3 separate regions of the Homo sapiens genome follow, and all the other regions are linked to region 2. Evidence: promoter capture Hi-C in human tissues and cell types (Jung and others, 2019). All regions are on one chromosome and are shown on one strand. Each heading gives the region's core, a stretch centred on a gene start or on the middle of the fragment in contact. The rest is flanking DNA. Distances are from core to core; before and after follow the strand shown. Region 1 overlaps DIRC3 (disrupted in renal carcinoma 3). Region 2 holds the start of RPL37A (ribosomal protein L37a). Region 3 overlaps DIRC3 (disrupted in renal carcinoma 3).

Region 1 (3,002 bases), core at 257-2,756, 1.2 Mb before region 2:
GGTCTGCGGGTTTGTGTCCACCATTTGGCAGAGAAATGTAGCCACTGATGGAAGAGATAAAGAGATGAATGAACAAACTTCATAAAGCAAGAGGCTCAAACTAGCTCCTCAATTTTCAGCTGGGGCTCCTGGAAGTCTTTCTGAGGAAAAAGGTGCATAAGTCAATCTAAGCCTCAGTTTCTGCATTTGTAAAGTCAGGGTGAAAATAAGAGAATGACAACATATACCATGCAGGTTTGTTAGTATTAGATAATGCATGTGGAGCATTTAGAAGTATTTCTGGTATATCATGAGCACACAAATTTAGTTATTAAGATTATAATAAGTAACCGGAATATAAAAGCAATATGCCCACCAGCATCCTCATCACAGTCCCTGCAGATGGATGCTTATCTTAGCTAGTCATGACATTTTTGGTAGTTAGTGACTTTAGAAGGTTCATATAGTGGTCTTTCAGCCCTGTCTTCTCAAGAAATAATCCTATGCATCACCCTTTACAGAGCTCTTTGAAGGCAAGAAACATGTCATATTCATCTCATTATCCTGCATATCTAGCACAGTATATGACATACAAAGGTGCTAAATATGCCTTTTAAAGAAATAGATGAATAAATAAATGAATCCTATTCATAGAAGGCATTGACATTAGATATTGGTTCAAAAATCATCTAGGATCGGTGGTGACTTAGTAGTGATGAAACTGAACCCAAACGCTGCCTTGGAGATCTTTTCATGCCCAGAAGTTCTGATTATGTTATGGCTCATCCTGTAATCAACAACCCTCCCCTCCCTGAAACCCATTCCAGATTTGGATCTAGCAGTGGCCTCCACAGTGAGGGGAGTGTTAACTGCCAGGCCTATCAAAATTAGTAGTCATTCAATCTGGGCTTTGGAGGGATAGTCTGATGTAACTCTTATCAGCTCCATCAGCAATGCCATGATCAATTTTAAAGAGTTGAGCTGATGTGGCTTATCAAGGGACCTTAGCTGCTATGATGCTATGGCCTGGCTTGATGCCCTCAGCCAAAGCCAAGTGTTGGGTGGGTAGCTTGGCTCTCTCAAGAGCCTGCCTGGCCCACTCTCGTGGTATGTGTCAGGGCAGCAAGAATGCATTGCCTAAACTAGGAATGTGGACCGCCTCTGAGGGCTGGAGAAAGAGGGGAATGGAGGGAGGGAGTTTTGGCTCTGATGGTGGAGCAGGAGAACTGGTTGTTCAAAGGACATGTAAACAGTCCTTGGCTCAAGCGTTCCTGCTGTTATCCATAGTTACTCCCAATCAATGTATCCTGGGTGTTGTTCTGGGGCAGGGAAAAGGTGGAGTCCAACCAGGAGCAGACTGCAAGGCACATTGCAGGTCTAGTGTGCAGAGGTGCAAACTTGGCCTAGGAATAAAGTGGTTGTGGCTCGGTTGCCATGACGTCAAGGGTGGCCTCAGTGCTTAATCTTTGGAAAGGGCATGACTCATCCCAGGGACACCTGCAGAGCCCATGTTCTCAAAGAGATACATCTTGGTTTGATGGTTGGAAAGACAGTAGAAGTCCTGTTTTCTCATCGTACCCTTTTTCCATCCAGGCAAGAAGGGACTGATAATAATCTCATTCTCATTCTTCTTCCGGTTGTTAATGAGTTTTAGCACATGGAACATTTTTAATAAGAATAGGCTCACCTCACTATGTTGGAATTTGGATTTGGAAGGCAGGGCCTTAGGGCTTTGAAATGTTTTGTAGAAAAGGCAATGCCGTGTGGGGGCTTCTCTGTTACCATGTGCCCTTCCCACTGGATGGAACAAACCACTGCACTAGAGTGACTTCAGACCACAGCCGATAAAGACACTGTGGTATAAGCTTCTGGCAATGTGGGCTTGATAGAATGAAGACTATGTTATTTCTCCTCTTTGCTCAACCACATTAACCTTCTGACATCCCTAGAATATGGTAGGCTTTTTCCTGCCTAGAGCCTTCACTTCCCTGGCCTTTGCGTGACTGGCTGGTTTTCATTCTTCAGCTTCCTGTTCAATGTCAGCTTCTCAGAGAAGCCTTCCCTGACCACTGTATGTCTAAAGTAGGCGTTCTCTCTCTACCTCCCCCAATATGCTTGTGTTAGTCCAATGCATTGCTATAAAGCAATACTGAGACTGGATAATTTATAAAGAAAGAAGGTTGTATTGGTTTTATTGGTCCTGCAGGCTGTACAGGAAGCTTGGCACCAGAATCTGCTTGGCTTCTGGTGAGGCTTCGGGAAGCTTTTACTCAAGGTGGAAGGCGAAGCAGGAGCAATCATGTCACATGGTGAGTGAGGAAGCAAGAGATGGGGGAGGTGCCACACCCTTTTAAACAACCAGCTCTCATATGAATTACCAGAGTGAGAACTCACTTATCACCAAGGGGATGGTGCTAAGCCATTAATAAGGGATCCGCCCCCAAGATCCAATCACCTCTCACCAGGCCCCACTTCCAACATTAGGAATCACATTTCAACATGAGATTTGGAAGGGAAAGACATCCAAACAATATTAATGCTCTATGACAGCCCTCTGTTTCTTTCCTCTGTGGTCCTCTTCATAACTCTAACTGCATTGATTCACTGGTTTATTATCTTTAGAGTGTGAGCCCTGTGAGGGCTGGCCTGCCTTGTACTTGGTGTATTTTCAGGATATAGGACAGACCTAGCAAACTTAAAATATTTGAGACCCTATCACGTGTACTTCAGTACTTTGGGAATTTCTGGGCATGTGAGTTAGACCTAGCCTCTTAAAGCTTAACATCTAGCTGGGAAAATAGCAAATTTTTCACTAGCACTTACAATAAGTGCTTTGAGAGAGGAAGAACAGAGTGCTGTTAGGGGAACTCTAAACAGGTCTGCAGAAGCCAGAGGAGGTTTTCTCCTGGAAGATCTAAGAACTGTGATCTGAATCAAGTAGAAATTAGCTAAAGAAAAAGGGAACTAGTTCTAGGCAGAGGGGATAGTATGTGCAAAGGCCTGGAGGTGGGAGAGACGAGGGC
Region 2 (2,860 bases), core at 346-2,845:
GACGAAACTGTGGTGGTCCTGATGGCCTCAAGTTCCAAATACAGTTTTGAACTAACTGACCCCTTCACCTATTTTTATCAAAACTTGCAGTGCAAATCAACGTTCAGTAGATTCAGCCCCACTAATGGACCTGCACAGTATCATGACAATGTTCACAACAATGTGCCCAGTGACCATCAAATTCTAAAGTAGTCTGTGAATTAGATTTCCGACTTCTATTTTGGTAGTTTTGTGTTTACTCTTTCAATAACTGAAAATAAACCACCACGGAAGAATCCTGAAAATACAAAGGCATCCTTATTCTCTCAGTCCTGAGAAAGTGTTAAAACTAGCCCATCCAGCAGCAACCTGGAATTTGGGCCTATGTGGTCCACACACTTCCAAATACCACAAGGAACTAGACTCACTTGTACGTCCAGGCACCGCCAGCCACTGTCTTCATGCAGGAACCACAGTGCCAGATCCCCACAGCTCGTCTCTTCATCTTGGTCTATAAAAGAGAACCAATTTTCACTATGAACCAAGTAAGTATTTTCTCTTACAAGCATCCAGAAGTCTAAATTTGGATTCACCTTATTGTCAGGGATGTGAAAGCCTCCCTTTCTCCCTCAAAAACAAAACAGGGATTGCTGTAATGCAGTATTTTGCACATAAACGTTCAAACCTTTATCAAACAAAAATCCCTCGCAGAACAAGTAGAATGGTATTAGATGCACAGACATCTTGGGAGTTGGTGCAGAAACATCAGTAGACAAAACTGATGGAATCATTTCCCACAAAGCAGGTTTGGCTTAGGCTGGGGGCACTCTGTCAAATGATTATTTTACCCATTAACGTTTAAGCGGTTTTCTTTAAATGAAAAACGTCTCACAAAATCTGAAGTTACCATCAACACTTTTATCTTAAAACTCATAATCAACGGTATGAGTAATTCCAACTGCCCACCAGCACACGGCTTATAAAATACCTTGAAGTCAGGCCTCACTTGGGTAAGAAACCTGCCCTCCCTCTCCTCTCACCAGAGACTTTGCCTTACTTACTTTGCCACAGAAAGAGCAAGTGTACTTGGCGTGCTGGCTGATTTCAATTTTCTTCACCATTTTCCGGAGGGAGGCCCCATAGCGGGTCCCGTATTTACCGACGATCCCGACTTTCTTGGTACGTTTGGCCTGTTTAGAGTGAAGGGAGAAACCAGTGATAGACCTGGAACCCAGGCAGGCCCTGGAGCCTCCACACACCGTTCCTCCACCTCACTGACGTGTGACCGACATGTGAATTACATATGACCTAGTTTTCCCTAAATTCAACCCAACGAAACCAGTGCCCAGGGCTGGCCGCGCGCTCCGAAGGCCCGGCGTTAACCCGGCTGGAGCGCGCCAGGCCCAGCCAAGGCGCCCCCGCCCCTCCGCCTTGGGGAGCTTCCGACAATGGTGTCTCCTGCAAAGGCATGGAGACAGGAGAGAACACGGGGTAAGGCAGGAGAGGAGATGGGTGCGGGAGAAGAAAACAAGGACAGATGCAGGCAGATAGAGTTCTAGGCCGCACAGAGACCCACACTCACCATGTCGCCGCGACCTAGGTCCGAGCCCAGAAAGGAAGAGACGCGGTGCGCAGGCGCGGTATTAGGCGGACGAGCGGAAGTGGCTGGTAGAGGCCTAGCTAGGAACTGAGCTCTATGGTTTGGGCGTTTTCAGGCGGCCTCCTGAGAAATGTTTGCAATTGTAAGGCGTCTCTCTCATCCAGGTTTACCCAGATTCGCAAACTATGGCGACAAACAACCATAGCAGAAGCATGTCCGGATTATTTCACATATATCACAAAATCCTGCAAAGGTACGAGTTCCTCCATTCGATGCACAGCACTTGGCTTGGAGAAGTGCATAAATCTTACATTTGTGGGGCCGGGCGCGGTGGCTCACGCTTGTGATTCTAACACTTTGGGAGGCGGGGTGGGTCAGGAGTTCGAGACCAGCCTGGCCAGCAGGGTGAAACCCCGTCTCTATTCCAAATCTCATTTATTTCCCCCTCTGCATTATGCTCTCTAAAAGTGGCTGACTGTGCAGGATGCTAGCGACAGTGGTGACTAAAATCCAAGGTTCCATTCCCAGAACAAGTTGCAGGCCAGCTGCAAACGATCATATAGCCACATTAAGAAGTTAGACAGTTTCAAACTGGTCAGAGTTCTGAAGGAAAGGACGATGGTTCTGCTCGCGACTAATTCAGAAGAGCCTGGTGTTTCCTGAGGAAAGTCTGAGATTGGAAGGCTGGGGAAAAGTTAACAGTCACCTTGGAGTTTTGTGTTCCAGCTGCTGCATCTCAGTGCGGATGGCCTGCCTTCCACTTCATTTCAGAACTCACTTCCATGGCCCCACACTAGGCTGTTAAGACAGCTTCCTGGTCCAGGCCTGAACCCTTAAACTCCAACATCTTACCCTTTACCCACCGTCAATTCTCTGTCCCTCCAGGTCTCTCAAAGGGGTCAGCAGGGAAGAATTGGATTTCTGGTTGAGGCCGGGGGTGGGGAGGGTGTGTTCTGGAACTAGACACATGATCTTCTTTCTTCACGTAGAACACACACACTAGGAAGTTTGGTTGCCTTTTTTCAGGGGATGGCTAATCCAGAGAATAAGAAGCTCAGAAAACTACTGGAATAAGAGTGTAAGAGAGAATCCATGATTAGAGGGCCAAGAAAGACCATGGGAGCTGAAAGGCATTGTGTGGCCCTGATTCCAATCAGAAGTCCGGTAACAAGTAGCTTCCGTTCCCAAAGCTTAATATTAACTGTCTCAAATAATTTTGCACCTGTTCACTTTTCCTCACAATTGTATTAAAGTCAACTTGCATACCTGGGCTGAGGTGGG
Region 3 (2,875 bases), core at 187-2,686, 1.1 Mb before region 2:
GAAGGACCTCCTACCTGATACCCTGATGCAGAAGGCTGGGGAATGATCACATTATGTCCTCTGGTTGAGTTTCAGAACAGGTGAGGGCCTTGGTTATCTGGACTGTGTTAGGGATAGACTTAGCTCAACAAAGAGGGGCTGGGGAGAATCCATGTGCCTCAGTGGAGCCCCTTTCCCTTACAGTGAGGGCCTTAAGAAGCCGAAGTGTAGTTTAAGCAGAAGCTGAGTTCTTGAGATTCTATCCAGGGGAGGTTAAGTGTTGGCCCGTTTCCTGAAGAGCCAGTGCTTCTAGGTTCTGAGAATTTGTTCCCTAATCTCTGCTTACAGGACTCCAGGCGGCTGGAGTCTGCATGAAAGGGGCCTTTGTCTGATATGGGAATGGTTTTTGGGGCTAATCTCTCCTTGGATGCATTTTAATTCACTTTAATGACTCTGCCTCCTGTCAGGCTTTTCTTCTGTGAGGGGGGTTTGTTAAAGAGATTAGGAGGAGTGAACATGAGCCCCTGAATCTCGCCTTCCTCTGAGGTTGCTGTTACAGGAAAAATAGTGTTCTGCAAAATGTATTAGGATGCTCTGGGAGCCAGTGGGGAAGGAGCAGAGTGGAGAGTAGGAAAAATATATATCTAATAAACACACTCACATATAAACACTCTGCATGTACTTACACCAAGCACGTTCACCAGCCTGCTGCCGTTTCCCCCAGCCCCCACCACCAGTGGTGGGAGTCGAAGCAGACAGGACAGAATGATGTCATCCCTAGGACACTGTCCTTTCTCTTGTCTCTCTCTCCCTCTCCTCTAGTTCTGTATAAACACAGCTGTTTGTGAGGAATGCTGGCTTGGGAAAACATAAACTGTCTGCATTAATGACCTTTCCTCCCTGCCAAACACCCCTTCCTACTGAACGTGGGAGACTGGAATGCTTTCAGCCCAGCAGGCCCATTGTCTTCATGTCTGCAACACCAGGTTTTTTAGCTTTCTGCTTGGGCCTGGGGTGACCAGACTCAGGGACCGTACAAAGCCCAGCAGGGCAGACAGAAGTTCATCAGCACTCTGGTTGCAGGTGATACTTCAGACCACCTGTGAAAGATTCCTAGGGGACTGCAGAGAGGGGAGGAGGGCGTCTCTTTTCTGGGCTTGGGGAATGCAGGGTGGAGGTTGGAGGGATAGCAGGGATCCACAGTGGATACAGGTGCTCCCTGATCTGCCAACTTTGCCCACTGGGAAGCCAAGGGGGAAGAAAATAGCAATGGTGGGCTTTGGCCCTCTACTTAGTGTCAAGCTATCGAACTGGGCATTAAGGGCAACCCCACCCTCATCATAGCAACTCACCCCAGCTTCCACTGCATTTACAGTCGCCATTTGGGACCAAGAGCCTTTTATCCTTTCAAAGAGTAGAACACAGGGGCAGCTAAAGGGAGAACCCAAGCTTGAACTCATGCAGTCCAGTTTCTTTTGAAATCCCACAGTACTGTGGTCCATAGTAATTTATTGACGGTGATTTTCCATTTCCAGATGGTGACCTTGGGGCCTTGGAGGTTAGGATGGTTTTTATTCAAGCTACTGAACTTGGCATTTTGGCTGAGTACATGTTTGCTTCCTGGCCACTTGCCCCCAGCCCAGTCTACTAAATCTCTCTCTGTGTCCCACTTTCTTACGTGGTTTTGTGACCACAGCTGCAAAGAAGTAATGACTGCTCTCTGGGCCTCCCTTTCCAAGGGTCAGGCACCTTAGATGGGGCCCAGGACAGCTGCCATTGTGGAATGAATGGGATTCAGTGCCAGAAAGGTGGGGGTGGGTGGGGAGCTAACAGTCTTCTGAAGTCTCCTCTTGGGTTTCCATGGGGAGAGAAGACAAGCCTTCACCCACGTATTCATGCTAAGTACAAATCACAGAGACATACCATTGGGCTACTGGTTACCTCTCTTGCCTACAAGTTGCCAAGAAAAATGCAGGTCTATAACCCACACTTACGGACTACCTGCTGTGTGTTGGGCAGGGTACTAGATGCTTTGCATCTGTTCCAATTTTATCCTTGCAACAACACAGTGTTATTAGGTAGTGCTATTTTATATTTAACAATGAAGAAATTGAGAAAGGTAGTTTCAGAAACACTATTCAATGAGTCAGTGATGAAGCCAGGATTCACACCACTTTGAATTTTAATGTCTATCCATTCCAGGAATTCAGAAGGAGATTGAAGAGGTAGCAATGAACACAATAAACCAGATAGATAGACAAAGGCGGCAATTGCCTGTGTGAGGTGATTTGAGGGATAAAAACAACATCCCTCACCTTCCCAAATATTCCTCTTACAGCCTGAAATCTATTACAGTCATTCCTTTGAGTTAAGCATTGCCCTCTGATTTTGCTGTGTTTTTGAATGCAAATATTTTTAGAGAGAAAATCATTTGGCAATTAAAATGCTTTATTAAAAAATCCTCATTTTCTTTTAAAATGTTTTACTTTCAATTAATTGTATTCCTTGTAAGGTAATACTTAACAGAAAGTAGTTTGTATCAGAAAAAATGACTGGGGGGGGGACCTCTTAAGGGAGTTGAGAAGTGTTAATCTTTGACATTTACTATTATAAGTGCATTTTAAGTAATTCCTAGAAACTGATAAAATCTGTTAGGAGCAAAGGATCTCTCTCTCTCTTTTTTAAGTAGTAGAAAATTGTACCCTTCTGATCTGAAAAAGAGATAGACATGGCTGTTAACTTTCTGAGATATACCCACATAATTGTAATCCCTTGGGATTCTGCTTCAAGGAAAGAAAAAGAAGGAATTTGAAAGATAGGTCGGGCTGAAGCTTCAAACATTAAAAGATGAGATGATATTGGTAAAAGCACTTGGACGAACCCTAGAGTTAAATGA

The links. Contacts are between HindIII fragments. The study calls those that stand out against the background at their distance.
Region 1: a fragment that was not itself captured here is called in contact with the fragment with the promoter of RPL37A in region 2 in 2 of the 25 tissues and cell types used here (aorta and psoas muscle).
Region 3: a contact is called between a fragment that was not itself captured here and the fragment with the promoter of RPL37A in region 2, in 1 of the 25 tissues and cell types used here (neural progenitor cells).

Annotation. Positions count from the first base shown.
Region 1 is chr2:217,690,545-217,693,546 of GRCh38, reverse strand. All of the region lies in intron 2 of DIRC3 (disrupted in renal carcinoma 3), which reads left to right. Among named protein-coding and RNA genes, the nearest start is that of DIRC3, 98 kb to the left of the region's middle. The HindIII fragment of the contact is 5,266 bases long and covers 1-3,002 here.
Region 2 is chr2:216,497,579-216,500,438 of GRCh38, reverse strand. RPL37A (ribosomal protein L37a) reads right to left here and starts at 1,595. Exons shown (of 4, transcript NM_000998.5): 1 at 1,562-1,595; 2 at 1,041-1,169; 3 at 408-490. The coding sequence starts at 1,564. RPL37A-DT (RPL37A divergent transcript) reads left to right here and starts at 1,687. Exons shown (of 4, transcript NR_183317.1): 1 at 1,687-1,832. RefSeq lists enhancers at 1,519-1,908, 2,089-2,178. The HindIII fragment of the contact is 7,301 bases long and covers 1-2,860 here.
Region 3 is chr2:217,620,356-217,623,230 of GRCh38, reverse strand. All of the region lies in intron 2 of DIRC3 (disrupted in renal carcinoma 3), which reads left to right. Among named protein-coding and RNA genes, the nearest start is that of DIRC3, 170 kb to the left of the region's middle. The HindIII fragment of the contact is 3,436 bases long and covers 1-2,875 here.